3 separate regions of the Homo sapiens genome follow, and regions 1 and 3 are each linked to region 2. The links are contacts of gene promoters, found by promoter capture Hi-C in human tissues and cell types (Jung and others, 2019). All regions are on one chromosome and are shown on one strand. Each heading gives the region's core, a stretch centred on a gene start or on the middle of the fragment in contact. The rest is flanking DNA. Distances are from core to core; before and after follow the strand shown.

Evidence for each region. Contacts are between HindIII fragments. The study calls those that stand out against the background at their distance.
Region 1: a fragment that was not itself captured here is called in contact with the fragment with the promoter of MLXIPL in region 2 in 1 of the 25 tissues and cell types used here (dorsolateral prefrontal cortex).
Region 3: a contact is called between a fragment that was not itself captured here and the fragment with the promoter of MLXIPL in region 2, in 1 of the 25 tissues and cell types used here (IMR-90 fibroblasts).

What each region holds. Positions count from the first base shown.
Region 1 is chr7:73,819,380-73,822,079 of GRCh38, reverse strand. No RefSeq gene overlaps it. Among named protein-coding and RNA genes, the nearest start is that of CLDN4, 10 kb to the left of the region's middle. RefSeq lists an enhancer at 1,623-2,201. The HindIII fragment of the contact is 3,377 bases long and covers 1-2,700 here.
Region 2 is chr7:73,623,234-73,625,933 of GRCh38, reverse strand. MLXIPL (MLX interacting protein like) reads left to right here and starts at 1,412. Exons shown (of 17, transcript NM_032951.3): 1 at 1,412-1,734. The coding sequence starts at 1,442. The HindIII fragment of the contact is 21,137 bases long and covers 1-2,700 here.
Region 3 is chr7:73,751,553-73,754,252 of GRCh38, reverse strand. No RefSeq gene overlaps it. Among named protein-coding and RNA genes, the nearest start is that of ABHD11, 14 kb to the right of the region's middle. The HindIII fragment of the contact is 3,086 bases long and covers 1-2,700 here.

The DNA.
Region 1 (2,700 bases), core at 49-2,548, 200 kb before region 2:
CTCCCAAAGTGCTGGGATTACAGGCGTAAGCCACCACGCTCAACTCAATGCTCTTTTTATATCAGGGCGTAAGCATTGTGGCTTGAGCTTTTGAAGTGTGCTTCAGCGCTCACCCACAGCACTCATCTCCCACCTCTTTTCCTCCCTCCCTCCCTCCCTTTATGCTTTCTTGCTTCTCTCCAACTGAGCAGGGGGAGTGTGGATGCCCAGGGGCCTGCCAGCTGCCACCCAGTTGGTGTCACTACCCCCCCAGCATCAGTCTCCATCCCCATGTCCCCATACAGGCTGGCTCTCCTCACCCACATCCGTGCAACAAGCATCCATGTTTATTTTCTTTCAGTCAATTTCATTCCCATTCTTTGCCATCTCAGCAGGCTGGCAGAGAACTCACAGTCAGTCCTTCCTGTAGCTCCCACTCTGACCTGGATATATGCGGTCCCAGGACATCAGGAAGGGAAGGCCCTCACTTGTCCCATCAGCCATTGCCAAGCTTTGGCTGCCATAAAAACCTCCAGGCTTCAGTTTGTGTGATGTCTTCAGGGCCTGGGGCTCACTGGCCTTGCAGTCACACTGAGGAATCAGAAATCACTGGTGGGACCAGACGAGGTGGCTCACGCCTGTAATCCCAGCACTTTGGGAGGTCCAGGTGAGAGAATCACTTAAGGTCAGGAGTTCCAGACCACCCTGGGCAACATAGCAAGACCCTGTCTCTACAAAAAAAAAAAAACAATTTTTTTAAAGATTTTAGGCCGGACGTGGTGCCACACAACTGTAATCCCAGCACTTTGGGAGGCCCAGGTTGGTGGGTCACTTGAGGTCAGGAGTTCGAGACCAACCTGGCCAACGTGGCGAAACCCCGTTGCTACTAAAAGTACAAAAATTAGCTGGGCGTGGTGGCATATGCCTGTAGTCCCAGCTACTTGGGAGGCTGAGGTGGGAGAATTGCTTGAATCCAGGAGGCGGAGGTTGCAGTGAGCCAAGATCACGCCACTGCACTCCAGCCTGGGCAACAGAGGGAGACTCCGTCACAAAAACAAACCAACCAACCAACAAAAAATTAAAATAGTTGTTATTGGGGTCTTTGTGAATAAAACAAAAATAAAATGGAGGCCGGGTGTGATGGCTCATGCATGTAATCCCAGCGCTTTAGGAGGCCGAGGTGGGCAGATCACAAGGTCAGAAGTTAGAGACCAGCCTGGCCAACATGGTGAAACCCTGTCTCTACCAAAAATACAAAAAATTAGCGGGGCATAGTGGAAGGCACCTGTAATCCCAGCTACTCAGGAGGCTGAGGCAGGAGAATCACTTAAACCCGGAGGCAGAGGTTGCACTGAGCTGAGACTGCACCACTGTGCTCCAGCCTGGGCAACAGAGCGAGATTCTGTCTCAAAAAAATAAAATAAAATGGAAAAAAAAAGAAGAAACAAAAAAATCTGTAATCCCAGCACTTTGGGAGGCCAAGGCGGGTGGATCACCTGAAGTCAGGAGTTCAAGACCAGCCTGGCCAAATGGTGAAACCCCATCTCTACTAAAAATACAAAAATTAGCTGGGCATGGTGGCGCACGCCTGTAATCCCAGCTACTCGGGAGGCTGAAGCAGGAGAATTGCTTAAACCCAGGAGGCGGGGGTTGCAGTGAGCCGAGATCGGGCCACTGCATTCCAGCCTGGGCGACGAGCAAAACTCTGCCTGAAAAAAAAAAAAGTGTTTTTTTTAGTTTAAAAGAAGTTTTTAAACTCCAAAAAATGTATGCAGATACTTCTGCCCTCATGGCGGGGAGAATAACATGAGTATGGGCTGTACAGGGTGACTTCGTTCCAAGGGGTGCAGCACAGGAAGGGTAACATTACAGCGGAGAAAGCTGGCAATCACTGCCCCAGCCAGGAGATCAAAGTCAACATCAGTAGTTATTTGTCATGCTAATAATCTATACTCGTGATAGAATGTAAAGCAAATGGCACTTTACCTGTGATCTTTCTCCTAAAAACCCATAATCCTAATCTAATCATGAGAAAAACATCAGACAAATCCCAAGACAGGAGCATCTGCGATATAGCTGACCAGCACTCCTAAAACCTGAAGATCGTCATAACAAGGAAAGGCTGAGACACTGTGGCAGCCAAGAGGAGCCGTCGTTACGTGATGACTAAATGTCACCTGGTGTCCTGGGTGGGCTCCTGAAGCAGAAACAGAACACTGGGGAAGAGCCATAGAAATCAATATATGTAAACGAATGCAAATATGTGTAAATAAATGTAAATAGTATGTAAGTAAGTGTAAATTGTATGTAAATAAATGTGATATGGGATCCCAGATGAGATCCTGGAACAGAAAAAGACCATTAGATAAAAAACTGTGTGGCTGGGCAAGGTGGCTTACGCCTGTAATCCCAGCACTTTGGGAGGCTGAGGAGGGAGGATCACTTGAGGTCAGGAGCTCGAGACCAGCCTGGGCAACATGGTGAAACCCCGTCTCTACTAAAAGTACAAACATTAGCCAGATGTGGTGGCGGGTGCCTGCAGTCCCAGCTACTCGAGAGGCTGAGGCAGGAGGATTGCTTGAACCCGGGAGGCGGAGGTTGCAGTGAACTAAGATCACACCACTGCACTCTAGTCTGGGTGACCGAGCCAGACTCTGTCAAAAATAAATAAATAAATAAACAAAAAAACCTGTGGCAATCCATATAAAGCATACACTTCAG
Region 2 (2,700 bases), core at 163-2,662:
GGCTCAGAGCTCCTGGGTAGATGCCTGCCTAGGGGATGTCCACCTTCCAGTGAGCCACCCATCCCTACCAGTAACAGTCCCTCGAGGCTCCCCTTGGGCCTCTCTGTGCAGGTGAAGTAATGATCACAATTTTTTTAATATATATTTTTTCTTAAGTATTTTATTTTGTTTTTGAAACAGGATTTCACTGTTGCCCAGGGTGGAGTGCAGTAGGGCGCGATCTCGGCTCACTGCAACCTCCACCTCTTGGGCTCATGTGATTCTTCCACCTCAGCCTCCCGAGTAGCTGGGATTATAAGCCAAGCACGCATCGTCACATCCGGTAATTTTTGTATTTTTAGTAGAGAAGGGGTTTCTCCATGTTAGCCAGGCTGGTTTCGAACTCCTGGCCTCAAGTGACCCACCCACCATGGCCTCCCAAAGTGCTAGGATTGAAGGCGAGAGCCACCGCGCCCGGCCACCGTGTTGGCCACCATGTTAACTAGAGGTGTTAGCAACCTCCTGTGGGCCAGGCCCTTCAGGGGCATTACCTTGGGCTTACCACATCAGGCCCCTGAGAGTTGGGGGCTTCTACCTATGTGGAGGACCCAGAAGAGCTAATATGGGGGGCGGGGGTTGGAGGTGAAGGGCAGGAGTTAGGTGAGGGGAGATGGTGATCTCTGGCCTCACAGGAGGGTGCCCCTGAAAGAACAAACCCCAGGTCCTGAGGCGCTTTCAGGCTCAGGTGTGATAGGGGACCCTTTTGTTGTGGAGACAGGGTCTCACTCTGTCATCCAGGCTGGAGTGCAGTGGCGCGATCTCCGCTCACTGCAGCCTCAACCTCTTGGTCTCAAGCGATTCTCCCACTTCAGCCTTCGGAGTAGCTAGGACTACATGCACACGCCACCATGCCTGGATAATTTTTGTATGTTTGGTAGAGACAGGGTTTTGCCATATTGTCGAACTCCTGGGCTCAAGGAATCCTCCCACCTCAGCCTCCCCAGTAGCTGGTATTACAGGCTTTCTCCACTATGTCCGGCTAATTTTTGCATTTTTTTGGTAGAGATGGGGGTCTTGCCATATTGCTCAGGCTGGTCTCGAACTCCTGACCTCAAGCCATCCTCCCGCCTTGGCCTCCTAAAGTGCTAGGATTACAGGCAAGAGCCCCTGGCGTCCGGCCTGACCTTTCTTAATATCCCTTTGGAGCAAAGTAGGGGCGGCTCTATCAGGACTCCAAGGAAAGACGGGAAGGGAGATGGGGCCAACCCGCCAGAGCTCCAGAGCACCGGGTTCTCACCTGGCGTAAGGATTATGCTAATACAAGCCCCGCCCCGTCCCAGGCCCCGCCCACCCGATCGGCCTATGGTGTGGGGGCGGGGCTATGTTAATGAGGCCCGGCTGGCCAAGAGCTGTTCCCCGCGCTGCGCGGAGCAGGGACCAGGCGGTTGCGGCGGCGACAGCCATGGCCGGCGCGCTGGCAGGTCTGGCCGCGGGCTTGCAGGTCCCGCGGGTCGCGCCCAGCCCAGACTCGGACTCGGACACAGACTCGGAGGACCCGAGTCTCCGGCGCAGCGCGGGCGGCTTGCTCCGCTCGCAGGTCATCCACAGCGGTCACTTCATGGTGTCGTCGCCGCACAGCGACTCGCTGCCCCGGCGGCGCGACCAGGAGGGGTCCGTGGGGCCCTCCGACTTCGGGCCGCGCAGTATCGACCCCACACTCACACGCCTCTTCGAGTGCTTGAGCCTGGCCTACAGGTGAGGGCGGTTCCGGGCCCTGACGGCCTTGGCTTCCAGGTGGGGATGGGGGGGGGGTCCGGGGCAGGACTGCGCGCTGGGGCCCTCAACACCCCACCCGAGCCCGGTCCTGCGGCTCCCGGAGGCTCCGATCACGCCCTGGACACCCCCTTTCTCCCAGCCCCGAGGTCCTCCTACAGCGGCCCAGCCCGCTGGCCCCTGACGGACCCACGCATTTCTGATTCCCATTCCTCCCCCATTCCCTCTTCCCCGAAGCGCAGACCGCCTGCGCCCCACCTCTACCTGGACCTCTGGTCCCCTCTCTCTGGTCCCAGCCCCTCCGTCCCTACAAAAATGCCAGGCGCCCCTGGTCCCTAGGCCACCCGCGCCCATCCCCACTCTCCACTCTGGAGCCACTCCACCCGACCCCCTGCAGGCCTCGGCCTTCTCCCCAGCAGCCCCGGCCCAAGCCCGCCCTATTCCTGGACCCTGAGATACTCCCAGCGCCCCTGATTGTCCCAGTTCATAACCAAAGTGGACTGGAACTGGCCCACTCTCACGTCCACCTCCCCGCAATTGCTGAGACACCTCTTCTTGATCTGCTACATTAAGGGTGGCGGGAGGAGGATGTCCCAGAAATGTCCAAGAGGCGCAGCTCGCAGAGGTTACGCCGGTGCCCGGGAGGCCTGGGTTCGCCTACCCACGTCGCCACACTAGGCTGAGCGCCCGTCGCTGCCTGGGACCCCCGCTTAGTGCCACCGAGAGCGCACAGGCCGCGCCCCGCTGCCGCTCCACGCCCCGCGTCCCAGAGGAGGGCGCGAACCCGAGGCCTGGCCCAGTGCCCTGGAGCAAAGTTCCCCGGAGTTGAGGGGCCAGTATAAATTATCAACCGAAAACCCGTAGGGGAGAAAGGGGGATCGGCCGGCCTTGATCTTTTCTCTGTGCAAATATTCCTCTTCCTCCGCGGCGCCTCCTCCCCTTCTGAGA
Region 3 (2,700 bases), core at 107-2,606, 130 kb before region 2:
CCAAAATGCTGGAATTACAAGCGTGAGCCACCATGCCCAACCTATAAGTATGCTTCTGAGTCTTAAATAAGTAAGTTTGAGATGGGCAGAGCTAAGAGGGGAAGCCTTCCCAAGCAGGATTCACTGATGGGCAACAGCAAGGAGAAAAATGATATGCACAAGGCAGAAAAATGATATGCACAAGAGTGAGCAGAGGCTGACCTGATTGAAGCAGGAAATTCATATCCAGAAACAGTAAGAGGCCAGGCGCGGTGGCTCATGCCTGTAATCCCGGCACTTTGGGAGGTCGAGGCAGGCGGATCACCTGAGGTCAGGAGCTCAAGACCAGCCTGGCCAACATGGTGAAACACCGTCTCTACTAAAAATACAAAAATTAGCCAGGCATGGTGGTGCGAGCCTGTAATCCCAGCTACTCAGAAGGCTGAGGAACAAGAATTGTTTGAACTTGGGAGGTGGCGGTTGCAGTGAGCTGAGATTGCACCACTGCACTCCAACCTGGGTGACAGAGTGAGACTCTGTCTCAGAAAAAAAAAGAACAAAGTTGGAGGACTCATACTTTCTGCTTTCAAAACTTACTACAAAGCTACAGTAATCAAAACAGTGGTACTGGCATGAAGACAGACATATAGACCAATGGAATAGAATAAAAAGCTCAGAAATAAACACTCATATATGAAGTCAAATAATTTTCAATAAGGATACCAAAACCACTCAGTGAGGAATGGGCAATCTTTTCACAGATAATGCTGGGAAAACTGGATATTTGCATGCAAAAAAATGAAGTTGGTTCCTTAACACCATATAAAAAAATTTACTCAAAATGGATCAAAGACCTAAATATAAGATCTAAAACTATAAAACTTAGATGGCTGATCAACCAAGTTTATAGGATATTATAAATCCTTTGTTGTCATTTCAACAGTGTTCACACAATCTTCACCAGGAGTAGTTTCCATCTCAAGAAACCACTTTCTGGCTGGGCGCGGTGGCTCACGCCTGTAATGCCAGCAATTTGGGAGGCTGAGGCAGGTGGATCACTTGAGGTCAGGAGTTTGAGACCAGCCTGGCCAACATGGTGAAACCCTGTCTCTACTAAAAATACAAAAATTAGCTGGGCATGCTGGCACGTGCCTGTAGTCCCAGCTACTTGGGAGGCTGAGGCAGGAGAATCGCTTGAACCCAGGAGACAGAGATTGCAGTGAGCCCAGACGGCACCATTGCACTCCAGCCTGGGTGACAGAGCAAGACTCCGTCTCCAAAAAAAAAAAAAAAGAAACCGCTTTCTTTGCTCATCATAAGAAGCAACCCCTTGCCAGGCACAGTGGCTCATGCCTGTAATCCCAACACTTTGGGAGGCCAAGGCAGGCAGATCACTTGAGACCAGGAGTTCAAGACCAGGCTAGCCAATAAGGCGAAGCCCCTCTCTAAAAAAAAAAAAAAAAATACAAAAAGTAGCAGGGTGTGGTGGTGCACAGCTGTGATCCCAGCTACTCAGGAGGCTGAGGCATGAGGATCTCTTGAACCCACGAGGCGGAGGTTACAGTGAGTCAAGATCACACCACTGCACTCCAGCCTGGGCAACAGAGCGAGACTCTGTCTCAAAAAACACCAAGACGTAACAAAGAAGCAACTCATCATCTTTTCAAGTTTGATCATGAGATTGTAGCAATTCAGTCCCATCTTCACGCTTGGCTTCTAATCCTAGTTCTTTTGTTATTTCCACCACATCTGCAATTCCTTCCTCCACTGAAGTCTTGAATCCCTCAAACTTATCCATGAGGGTGGAATTCACTTCTTCTAAACTCCTGCTAATGTGGATATTGTCACCTCCTCCCATGAACCCTGAATGTTCTTAATGGCTTCCAGAATGGCGAATTCTTTCCAGGAGGTTTTCAATTTACCTTGCCCAGATCCATCAGAGGAATCACTATCTATGGCAGCTACAGCCTCACAAAATGTATTTCTTAAATAATAAGACTTAAAAGTCTAAATTGCTCCTTGATCCATGAACAGCAGAATGGATGTTTTATTTGCAGCCATGAAAACAACATTAATCTCTTTGTACATCTTCAGCAGAGCTCTTGGGTGACCAGGTGCATTGTCAATAAGCAATACTATTTTGAACAGAATCTTTTCTTTTTTCTGAGCAGGAGGTGTCAACAGTGGGCTTCAAATATTCAGCAAACCATCTTGTAAACAGATGTGCAGTCACCTAAGCTTTGTTGTTCCATTTCTAGAGCACAGGCAGAGTCGATTTAATGTAATTCTTTTTTTTTTTTTTTTTTTTTTTTTGAGATAGAGTTTCGTTCTTGTTGCCCAGGCTGGAGTGCAGTGGCGCAATCTCGGCTCACGGCACTGCCTCCTGGGTTCAAGCGATTCTCCTGTCCCAGCCTCCCAAGTAGCTGGGATTACAGGCATATGCCACCACACCTGGCTAATTTTTGTATTTTTAGTAGAGACAGGGTTTCATCATATTGGTCAGGCTGGTCTCGAACTCCTGACCTCAGGTGATCTGCCCACCTCAGCCTCCCAAAGTGCTGGGATTACAGGTGTGAGCCACCGCACCTGGCCGATTTAATGTAATTCTTAAGGGCCCTGGGATTTTCAGAATGGCAAAGGAGCATTGGTTTTAACTTCAAGTCACCAGCTGCATTACCCCGAACAAGAGTCAGCCTGTCCTTTGAAGCTTCAAAGCCAGGC